Regions from separate parts of the Homo sapiens genome. Here regions 1, 2 and 4 are each linked to region 3. Evidence: promoter capture Hi-C in human tissues and cell types (Jung and others, 2019). All regions are on one chromosome and are shown on one strand. Each heading gives the region's core, a stretch centred on a gene start or on the middle of the fragment in contact. The rest is flanking DNA. Distances are from core to core; before and after follow the strand shown. Region 1 has its middle 160 kb from the start of TENM3-AS2. Region 2 has its middle 1.5 kb from the start of LINC02500. Region 3 holds the start of DCTD (dCMP deaminase). Region 4 has its middle 230 kb from the start of TENM3-AS2.

Region 1 (2,700 bases), core at 107-2,606, 1.2 Mb after region 3:
TGTGTTCAATCTCACTTAAAAATCACAGTGAACTTTGTATTATTATTCTCTATTTCACAGAAGAAGTGAAGCTCAAAGAGGGGCAAAGATCTGCACAAGATGGGACACTGGAGCCTTGTGGCAGTTTTACTACATTACAGAGTCATCTGGACAGACTATCACAGCGTTTTTATCATGATAGTACATATTTGCAGTATATTCTTCTGCAGGTGCAAACGTGGTTATTGACCTCTGTAGAGGGGCAAAGATTTTAAGGTGCTATCCAAAGTATATATTTTGGAATTTTGCAGTCTAAATTTCAAGAGATGTTATCTTTTTATCAGGAAAAACAAAAGCAGGGAATAATCCTATTCCTAGTCAGTCTTGAGATACAATCTATCCCATGAGCCAGAGACAAGTAAGAAATGCGTCCCTGGGCCAGGCTGATGACTGTCCCTGTCTGAGACACTGGAGCGCATCAGAAGGAATCATGTTAATGTATGAACCAGAGCTACCAGGTGCCAAGCCCTTTGCTCATGGCAGGAAATGCAAAGATAAAAAAAAAAAAGTAAAGTTTGCTTCCTAGGAATAACCAGCTGGATGGGAAAAGTAGGCAATTAACTGGGTACTAACCTGCTATGCAATAATTATTGTACGCTGCTTGGACATAAAGAGCCACAGCAGGAAATGAAATAATGTACGTCGAGCACCAAGTGCTAAGGTGCTTTACATGGTTTCTCTTATTTCATTCTGCTACTGACTCTGTGAGGCAGGTATTATTGTTCAAGTGAAAAAACAGAAACTCAGACAGGTGAACAAACTTGCCCTAAATCATACGAGTATTAAGAGGCTAAGCCAGGAGTTATTTAGGTATGTTTGCTCTCAAGATCACACTCTGCCCATTTACTGCAGAGAGATCCAGATGATCTGAAACTTTCTGCAGTACTCTGCGACAGTAAATACAGCTGGTACAGATATTTACTCCTGTAGGAGTAAATATAACAGCGTTCTCATATTACTTTATGTGTATTTAATATATGGGTCAATTTATTCATGACAAACTTTAGCAATAATTGCTCTCATATTTATAATAGGAGGTAAGTTGACCATAATTTTTGGAAAACATGAACTCACTTGTTAAGGAGTCTAATTTACTCCACCTCATATTAGGCAACTCTCAGAGCTCTTCATCACTTTCTAATTCTAACCGTTTACTTTCACGGGGAACATTACCTATCCATGTTGGTAGATCATTTTCTATAAATTATGTACAACACAAGCAGCAGTGTATAATGCCACTACTTAAATAAATATGTATTCTTTATAGTGTCACAGGTGAAGTATTGAAAGAAATGATATAATTTGCCAAGAATCCCATTTTGAAAATAACTTGTCCAGAATGCCGAACCTGTGCAATGCTGGCTTTTTTCTGCTGTTTAGATTTTTTTGTAATAAATGTGCGTTATAATAAAATATTTCAAATAAACACTGCATTATTAATGAATCTTGTGCTTGCCCTAGGGCAGCTGAGTCATAAATGGTTCATTTAAATTCTGGGTTCCTCCTGCGACAGACACAGTACTTCTAATAGTTCACTATGTGAAGACTGTACCTTCATTGTTTCCATTTCTACCCAAATGCTACTTGCTGATGTAATACCTACAGTGTTGAATGCCCTACAACCAAGTACACATTTTTTCCCTCTTAACTTCAGTGCCTTGTGTCTACAGCAAAACTAGTATTACTTAATATTGCTAGTATTTTCAAAAGATCACATATATGGGTGAATTTCTTCTCTAGTTCCACAAGATTCACTGCCTTTTTTTCTATCTTTCATTGGGTTAAAAACAATTTTAAGTGATGACAAGATGCATGGTTCTTAAATTGTGCTGTAGATCATTTCGAGGCCAAGAGAATTAATACAGCAGTATCACTTTGTGCTTTGGGACATTAATAACCTAGAATTACCAGAGAAGAAAACACGGTTACAAACCGGTCACTCTCGGCAATTACTTTTACCACAATGGGACTAAGGGACGGACCCTTTTACCTCCTCATTTTTCAAATTCATATCTATGGCACTATGCAGTTTCCATTAAATATTACCTAGTGGTTAATTAAAAATTATGAAATGGTATTCATTCCAAAGTATTAATCAATACTTGCAATCCATTTACCTTGAGTGTACAGATCAATTTCTAGAAGTCAAATTATAAGCTGTTTATCTTCTACATTTTTTCTTGGCTAAGATATACTTTTGGAGATAAAAAGTATATCTATGAAAATAAAATTTCATAGCTAAAATTAGAAATTGTAAACTGCCCTTTAACGGAATAATCATAAGATGTGTTTTATTAATAGCCTGCTAAGAAAGCCATCTTTTACATTCTTTCTACACCAGCTTTCAACCTGTTGCTGATGTGCTGGAATGTTTCAGCAGGCTGATACACACCGAAGTTCTCCCTAGAGGTCCCATCGAACAAGGATTTCAACACACTCATAACATTCTTAAACAGAGTGGGCTTCATCGGTGGACCCCAAAGTCAAGGTCAGATGAATCCACTGAACAGGCAGCCAGGTGTGTCAGGACTAGATAGACATCCCAGGTTTGCAAGTTAGAAAGGGGGCAGAGAAGCAATCAGTTCTTGTAGGTTCCTCTGTGCTGATACGCTGGGGGTATCTGGTCTAGCAAAAGTGATTCTCAAGTCAGAATGGGGTAAC
Region 2 (2,795 bases), core at 188-2,687, 1.7 Mb after region 3:
CTAAATAGACTTACTATTTATTGCATTTGATAGTACTGAGAGAGGCAACAACATAATTTATAGTGTAATATCAGTATATAAATAGCAACATAATTTATAGCGCAAGTAATATCAGTATAATCTCCAGCCTGACCAAAACCTAGTAACTTAGGTTTACAGCAATAAACACAATTGGATAAATTAAAGCCAATTCAGGTGTTCTGTATTATTTTCCCTTACATTTAAGAAGTATATGTATTTAAATTTCATTCTATGTGTTATTATTTTAAAAACTCATAATCAATGAAATAATTATATCTATTCACACAGAACTGAATTTCCTTAGGCTTTTGAAAATCTAATTTGACCACTTAAAACATCTCATTCATTCATTCATTCATTCACATATCCACTCCCCAAATATTTATTATTCAACGAATAAACACTGGTCACCTTGATGAACAGTGAGAAGTAAATAAATTTTTCATGGAACTTATATTTTAATAAGGAAAGACAGATAATCAATAAATGTATAGGATGTATAAGTCAATACATGAGATGCCTAATGGTAATAAAATATGTAAAAATAATAAAGCAAGATAAAGGGCATAGAAAGTGCTGGGGCTGTCATGAAGGGCTTGTAAGGCATGGTTTATTTTACAGAGAGTAGTTAGGAAAGGCCTCATTGATAAAATACCATTTGGGTAAAAAAGAAAAACTCTGAAGGAAGTAGTGACTCACACAGGAATAAAACTTTACTTCCCATATCTTTATATTAAAAATTTTCCTCGTATATTAGAAAATACTCCTTATCCCAAAATGAACACCATAACGATTTGTGACTAAATTTTCCAAAGTGTCTATTTGTAGGCTAACATGTCTTCTTGGTGTTCTGTCTGCCAAGATACTTAAGTGATCTTATACTTCAGCTTAATGAACACTTAAGTTCTTACCCTACATAAGACTCTTTTTGTCTGCCCAATAACCATTTCTCCAACAACTCTTAGAAGCATTTTACCTTTCCTTTGGGAGTTGAGCATTCCTCATTCTGAAATGTGACCCAGGTCTGGTCAATCAGGGTGGCCAACTTCTTCCAGCTCCAGAAACTGACTCAGAAAATGCTTATGATACAAGAGAGGTCAATCAGAATCTCTAAGTGTCAGCCCAGATGTTGTGGGTGAAACTATGGAAATATGTACTCCTTTTTGCCAGATTTCCTTATCATTAGATATGTACTTAGGATGTAAGCCTGAAGTTTCTGAAGTTCAACTTGTCAGTAAGAGAAAAGACAGTGTCAGAAAAAAAGCCAAAGGAGAGGAAAGCAGATTCGAGAACTGTACGGGAATCCCTGACAGTATTGTTTCAACAGCTAGATCCAACTAGGCCTGAAGCTGCTACCCATAGACTCTATGAGATCCAACAAATTACCATAGTTCCACTAACTATTAGGATCACCTTTATTATACTCACAAGTAGAAGCCTCATAACTAACACAAAGAACCAGCTACCTCAATTCTACTTACTCTACAGTTTTTAAAAGAAAGAAAAAAAGATATATGACAGTAAGAATGGCTGTTTCACTATCCTCTCATCAGCCTGCTTTTTATGCATTTCTTTGTGATGATGATCATTTGGTTACTTTTGAGTAGCAAAATATAGTTTTTATTTCAGCTCAATAAATATTTTATGTGCACTTAAATGTATAAGAAACTTACCTTGCACTGGGAACATACAAAAATGAAACAAGACAAGTTTCTCATTCTGAACACACGGTATTGAGCTTGCATGACTCACAGTGTGCAAATTGTATAGCCAAAATAAAAAAAAATACTATATAAATCCTATGAGTACTATTTCCCCCATTAGATATTAAAAACACTGAAGCCATGAATTGTATTGTTTTTCCCTAAGTTTCATCTCTAACACTTGTGTCTAGATTATTAATATTTGTAGAATACAACACATATTTTTCTTTGAGGCCTATCAGTCTGGAAGTGTCTTCTCGGGACAACTGTTAAAACAATGTGCAATTGCGACCGTGGTTACCTCTCATTCAATTAGTAACTTTATCTGCTAATAAATGATTTTTCATTCATATCTGGAAGACCTTGAAATCCTCCTAAACAATACATTTATAATGATGCAGTGATGGTTTTGAGATAAAGTATTCTGCAACAATGTCTTTTAGGAAAAAAAAAAGATTCTTATGAGAAAAATAGAGAAACAAAATATAAGTCAATATACTAAGATTAAGAACATAGATATGTATTTTCTCTTCCTTCCCACATCTCATTCTTTCTGTAATAAAATGATCTCAGCACTCGCACTGCCTTCTGATTACAGCAAGATTGCAAGACTTCTGCAGCTTTCCTACTGCAGAGCTATTTCTAATACCACACTGATCCTGAAATGTTTGCCATCTCCTTAAAGCACCTGCTGTAACTCCCGGCCATACTCTTCTCCCCACTTTAAAAACTAGATCTAACCCAACCATCAGGCTAAAAGTAGGAAATACAACAGTTTGAAGAAATGCAAAAATTTATCTTGTATTCTATTAAACGGCAGGCACTGCTGAAATAAGTTATGCCTAGGCACTTGGGTTCGGGTAAATCAAGTAACATGATATATTTTTTACGAAGGGGCTGTTTTAGCAAACTGGGCAGACCTACTGCTCTGATTTCTCATGCATTGTTTTACTCTCATTAAAATGTTTTTGGTTATACGTCATTATCTTTTACTTATCCACTAATGGTCTACAGACACACAAATATCAGGCAGGTGAAGTCTTCCCCCATCCCCCTCCCCCAATCCCGCTG
Region 3 (2,922 bases), core at 58-2,557:
AAAAATCTATAGTTAACGATGAAGTATTTCTCCCTTTTGCTTTCCCGGCATCCACCAAGAGCAGTACATAATTTAATTATTGAATCTACAAGCTGGACCATGAGATGAAGAATGATGTGTCTGCTGTAGTGAGAAATTAGATAGAACCAACTGTTTACTCTCATCATTCTTCCTCCGTTAGGCTAAATTAATATAGTTAACAAGCTTTTGTTTGGAATAGCAGTTCAAATCTGGGATGTGCAGATCAGAACTGGCGATTATTACAGTAGCTGTTATTTATGGAGTGCTGACAGTCCCCTCAAGTCCCATGAATGAAACAGAAAGGGGTTCTTCTGTCATTCTCTGTGCTAGAACCACTGTAAGGGGCTAGACGTCTGCACAGGGTAACGAAGTTCATGAAAACCAGATTAAGTTGCTTGGGGCATACGACTCCAGAAATGTCACTGATGGTCTTTCCTATTGCCCTGTTTTTCTCATCTTTGAAACAACTGCAACAAAATGTGCACTATATAAGTGGGCGAGCATTACCAGGAGGTAACATGCAGGTGGGGTGCCTGTGCGGTGATACGGGTCGAGCAGGGCGCGGCAGGCTTTAGCAAACACCTCAGGCCCTTCCGCACAATTTGAGCAGAAACTGAAAGCCTGTCAGGCGCAGCCAAATGCAAATCTAGCTTCGAGGCACTGAGCCTCGAGGCACAGCGCCCCCGCCGGACCCAGTTCCCTGCCCCATCCAGTGTGTGAAACTGTGACCCAGCCACCGGCCAAGGGTCCCCACGGGGACGCTGCGACACAGCGGGCTCACTCCAGAGACCCAAACCAGGTCTCCCCACCTCCCGCCCCGCCAGTTTCACGGCACTAGATTCTTGGGGTCGTCTTTTAATCACAATCTCCATAGCCGTGTCTCTAAGCAGTTGATGGAACACGGATGGTGGGGAAAACCTCACCACCGCCACCACCACCAAACCAAGCAGCCCCCGACGGTCGTGCAGTCAGGCCCGGGAGCGCCCAACTCGCGGCCACCCAGCGCCACGCGTGACCCGGGCAGCGGGGCGACCTCGGGGCGGTCTGGCACCCGGGAAGTAGTTTGTGCTCGGGCTCTGAACACCGCCGGCCGGACCGCGGGCTGCGTCACGGGGACCGGGAGGCGTACGGCGACGCGGAGCAGCGCCTTTGCGGCGTGCGACCCGCCCCCGCCGTCCCTCCCTCCCTCCCCTCAGGGCTTCGGGCCCCCGGGGCCAGCCGCCGTCCTGCGAACGCGCGGCGCCCGGGCCGCTGCCCCCTTCCGGCCCCGCGGCGGCCCCGCCTCCTCCCCCGACTTCCTTCCCTGAGCACGGCGGCGGCGGGGACGAGCACCGGCCTGCGCGCGGAGCCGGCACCGGATGGTGGGCGGGGGCCAGCCGTGCGGGTACGCGGCCCGCGCGCCCCTAGCCACCGCCGCGTGGCACCGTCCCGAGCGCGTGGCGCGGGGCGCTGGCTGCCGGGCGGGGGCCTGGGGCCGCGGACGCTGGGGGCGCCTCGGCCGCGCTCAGCCTTTAGATCGGAGAATGCGGGCGGGGTGGGGGCGCTCGGGGTCCCCGCAGTCACTCCAGGGTCGATTTCTCGGCGGGCGCCGCGGCCTGTGCGAGGCCGGGCCCCTTGGAGTGCCCCGGGAGGTGGTGCTGGGCGTCTGAACACCACATCCCTTCCTGCGCCCGTGTGTGGGTTGGGAATGCCGGGTGTAGGCCCTGGATCAGAGCTGACGGGGTTGCGAGCGGCGTGGGGTGTGCCTGGGACGGTGACCGGATGTGTCTTCCTGAATCGTTGTATTCGAGCTCCAGTTCTCTCTGTTTCTACAGCTGGGCCTCAGTCCTCACAGGGCTCTAGTGGGCGTTCAGCCACACCAGGAGAAGGCGCCCAGGGGATTAACAGGACCCTTCCCTCTCCTGCTCTTCCCTCGCCCCCCATGGCTCCCCCTCCCTCCTATTTAGTAGGTACTTCTCCAGCACCCCACAGCGATGATGGATGCTGGCCCTAAAGCCAGGTGGGAAACCAGGCTGATTCAGCACCTGTCTTTTCCTGTTAGGGGGGTTGCCAGGCCTCTCAGATGTGGGGCAGCGTAATCAGTGGGTGACCGTGGTTCCCAGCACCCACTCTCCACTGCATCCTTGTCTTAGGCACTGCCGCCCTGCACTGTAGCAGATGCCTAAATAAAGTGTGGAGCCTGAAGCAGAAGTTTTGGGAGATGCTTGCCTTCCTTTAGACCACATTCCTCGCCTTTCTCAAGATTTCTCCGTGGTACCCACCCCGTTTTTGTGTTGTCTTCCTTCCTTGCCCTTGTTTCATTCCTTTTGAAAGCGACCACTCCCCTGAAGTCCTAGGACCCCCTTCGTGGGCTCTCCCTGCCGTAGACAGTCTCTGCTTGCCCCTGGTAAACTACGTTCCAAAAACCTTGCTTTAGGAGTAGCACTTGACGTTTTTCATAGTTTCTTCTCATGTAATTCATTACTCGGAGTTGATAACTTCTGTCCCATCTGGATTATTGAGGAGAAAGGGAAGGGAAAAATTATCTGGTTAATATCAGAGTTGGGAAGGCTTCAGATGTTTTCTTTGAATCCGTCTGGCATGGATGATAATCCTGTGTGGTTTAGGTTAAGTTACCTAAGTTCTCTGAGTCTGTGTAAGATGGGATGGCACTGTCTACCTTAGCTAGGAGTAAGGCTTGAGTGACATGATGTGTATAAACTTTAACAATGTCTGGAATCTATAGATGATCAATAAATATTTCTTTTTTCCACCCTCCTCCTGTGCTGACTCCGCTTTGTAAGGGAGACAGGTAAAGGACACAACAATTTGTAGGCTGGCATAAAAAATCCTATGAGAAAGCAGTAAATAGATGAAATATTTGGGAACGTGAAGCTATAGGTTTCAAATTCAAACTTCTGA
Region 4 (2,878 bases), core at 224-2,723, 1.3 Mb after region 3:
CTTGCCGATGTGCACCGGTAGTATTGCTCTTAGATCAAGGCAGATGGGACCCCACTCTGGGCTCTGCCCACTGGAGGAAGCTGCAAATCTCAAACATGGAAATGCAAAGGGCCATCCTATCCCCTAGACCACCACGCTTCTGTGACCTGAGTGGGCAGAATAAGCAGAAGCTAGACCAGACTCTAGCACTTCTGGGAGGAGAGCAGACCCACCTGAACCCAAATTGAGACTAAGTCAAGCTTTGTTTTTTTTTTTTCTTTTTGGTACTATAAGACATTTTCTTGAAAATTGGAAAATGGTGCTAATGAGAATGACAGGCAAGGAACTCACCAGGTACCATCACAAGTCGAAGGATGCCTGTCTGAATGTGAGAGAGTGGGTGTGTGTCTACGGCAGCAGGGAGCAGCCACGGCCCTGGGATATCAAAGAAAGAATGGCTCCCACCCAGAAGCCCCAGCATCAAGGGCCAGGCAATCAGAGTCCCCAGGAAATGCATACTGCCTCCCTTAGGCAGTTTTGAGAGGTACTTAGGACTATGTGAAAATTTCAAGTCAGAAATGCAAGGAGCTAGGGAAAGTGTTTGCCTGCCTTGGCTTCCGGGAAAACTTGACTTAGTCTGAACTTGGGTTCAGGAGGGTCCAGTCTTCTCTCAAAAGTGCCAGGGCCAGGAACAGGCTGTGGGTCTCTGGGTATAAGGAGGACTGGGGCAGTGGTTGCAGCAGGATTTACAACACTTAGTATGAGATAACCATGTGCGAGCCTCCATTTATCCTCTTGCTCTGGAGCCCTCAGATTTTAGAGGTAGGTCTGTGTCAATCAGAATGTTCAAAACAGCATTCTGTGCAATAGCAAAAACCTGGAAACAACCCAAGTGTCCCCAGAAGAATGGATGAATTCACACAATGGTATATTACACAGCAGTGAAAATGATTGAATCACAACAATAAGGAACAATGTAGCTTAATCTTAGCAATATAGTATTTGGTGACAAAAGAAAATCACAGGAGATTACATGCAGCATTAGCTGTATAAGTCTGAAAATAACCAAAACTAAAAATATCTGATTGTTAATCATACACACGGATGTGGGTTAGAAGAAAGAGGGCGATACAGTCACGATTCAGAGGAGGGGTTTCTCTGGTCTGGGATACAGGGAAGGAACTCACCGGTAAATGTAAGTTATTGCGAATTGTCTAGGTCTGGGGCTTGTAAGATATATTCACAAGTGTTAATAAATTTGTGTAATAAATAAGTAAAAAAGGAATAAATAATAAAAGAAGGTCATAGATGAGTAAAATATAGAGATGAAGCAAGTATTATTTAATTTTGTGCACAAATGGTCAAATAATTAAAATACAATAAAATTAGCAATTACCTTTTCCAATGCAGTGTTCTTCACTCCTAAATCTGATCTTATTTTTTAAGGTGCTATTACCACACCTTGCCCAGATAGAATAAGCACAGAGGTAAAAAAAATACTAGAGAGCTATATTAATTACTTAGTGCATCAAAATTCTTGCTTGTATATACAAATGCAGTTGTGTAGGTAACAGGAATATTTCAGTGGTAGGAGAATGTGTGCAAGTTACTTTACCACTGATAAGTTGTGTTCAGTGTCTCTCTTATTGTCCAATAATTTGCCTGTAACAAAGAACTGGATCATGTAATTTATTGTGGCCTTTGAGAATGTTTCTCTGTTTGCCCTCCTTAACCATCGACGTTACAGTGTCCTGCTGTTGCTTTTGTTCCGTTTTTTAATGTGGCATTTATAATTACAGTGTGATTCACTGAAATCGTCTCTCTTTGTGCTCTACGTCTGCTGTTTGCACAGAACGAAGGGAATAATGGTACACTTATTCAATTGGGGTGCCTTGAGATAATGAGGTCCTTGAATAAGGTAGCTCTGCTCAATGTGGTTCCTTTATTCTCTTTAACTTGGTAGAAATATTCTACCTATGTGCTTGTTAGTATTTGGGGATAACTCGATATTTTTGCCCCTGCCTGGATACTTACACAACCTTTCACCTAACTTGTCAGTTTCAACCATAGTTGCTGAGAAAATAAAGCTGAATGAAAAGCTTCAGGTAGTTAGACTGTCCATTGGTTAACATTAAGCACTATTTTTTGAAAAGGGCAAGGTAAGTAAAAGAAGACAGAAAATTTTGTTTTCATCAAAATTTTCACCAGAGCTATAATATTACTGTACATACATTTGAAAAACCTGCGTGTTTAAAAAGAGTCCAACAGTCTCTTATTTTCATAATACTTGAAAAATGGCAAATTGTTCCTTGAATTAATAAGCAAATGATTACTCTCTTCATACTCATATTTTCATTCTGGTCAGAATTTCATAGCTGTATTATTACAAGATGTAATCTATTTCACTTTTATGGTTTTCTTTTTTTTTTTTCTTATGCTTGTTTAATGATGAAATCAGGATATGTTAAACATTGGGCTTTTGATCATGGAATAATGGTTACACAGGCAACATCTAAAATTCTTTGCCTCAGTTTCAGATGTTTACCTTTGTCAAAATATCTTTTCATTGTGTCCCATTAAATCATAAAAAAATCCTTTAAAAATATTCTTAATTAAAAAAATCTAAAGAGGAGTAACATTAACATTTCTTCTATTTAGCTGGGGGTTAGGGGAAAAAATGAGCTTTGTTCAGAATGTTGTCATTATCACCCCAAATCCAATGTTGAGGAAGGTGGTCAACCACTGTTGTGGGAAGGATAGAGATTTTAACTGGGATCTGTAGTACACGTAGTTCAGGAATGAAAGCCCTAGAGCCTTAACTGAAACTGTGACTATGAAGCTGCTTAGAGAAATACTATGGGATATTAATAGCTAGAGTTAGCAGTTTGTTGAATTTTGT

What was found. The method cuts DNA at HindIII sites, captures the fragments that hold promoters and counts their contacts. A contact is called where the count stands out against the background at its distance.
Region 1: a contact is called between a fragment that was not itself captured here and the fragment with the promoter of DCTD in region 3, in 1 of the 25 tissues and cell types used here (dorsolateral prefrontal cortex).
Region 2: a fragment that was not itself captured here is called in contact with the fragment with the promoter of DCTD in region 3 in 1 of the 25 tissues and cell types used here (H1 embryonic stem cells).
Region 4: a fragment that was not itself captured here is called in contact with the fragment with the promoter of DCTD in region 3 in 1 of the 25 tissues and cell types used here (dorsolateral prefrontal cortex).

Annotation. Positions count from the first base shown.
Region 1 is chr4:181,669,593-181,672,292 of GRCh38, reverse strand. It overlaps a transcript of TENM3 not described here. Among named protein-coding and RNA genes, the nearest start is that of TENM3-AS2, 160 kb to the left of the region's middle. The HindIII fragment of the contact is 6,092 bases long and covers 1-2,700 here.
Region 2 is chr4:181,265,175-181,267,969 of GRCh38, reverse strand. No RefSeq gene overlaps it. Among named protein-coding and RNA genes, the nearest start is that of LINC02500, 1.5 kb to the right of the region's middle. The HindIII fragment of the contact is 6,307 bases long and covers 1-2,795 here.
Region 3 is chr4:182,915,771-182,918,692 of GRCh38, reverse strand. DCTD (dCMP deaminase) reads left to right here and starts at 1,307. Exons shown (of 6, transcript NM_001921.3): 1 at 1,307-1,382. RefSeq lists a silencer at 966-1,675. The HindIII fragment of the contact is 4,495 bases long and covers 1-2,922 here.
Region 4 is chr4:181,598,221-181,601,098 of GRCh38, reverse strand. It overlaps a transcript of TENM3 not described here. Among named protein-coding and RNA genes, the nearest start is that of TENM3-AS2, 230 kb to the left of the region's middle. The HindIII fragment of the contact is 3,906 bases long and covers 1-2,878 here.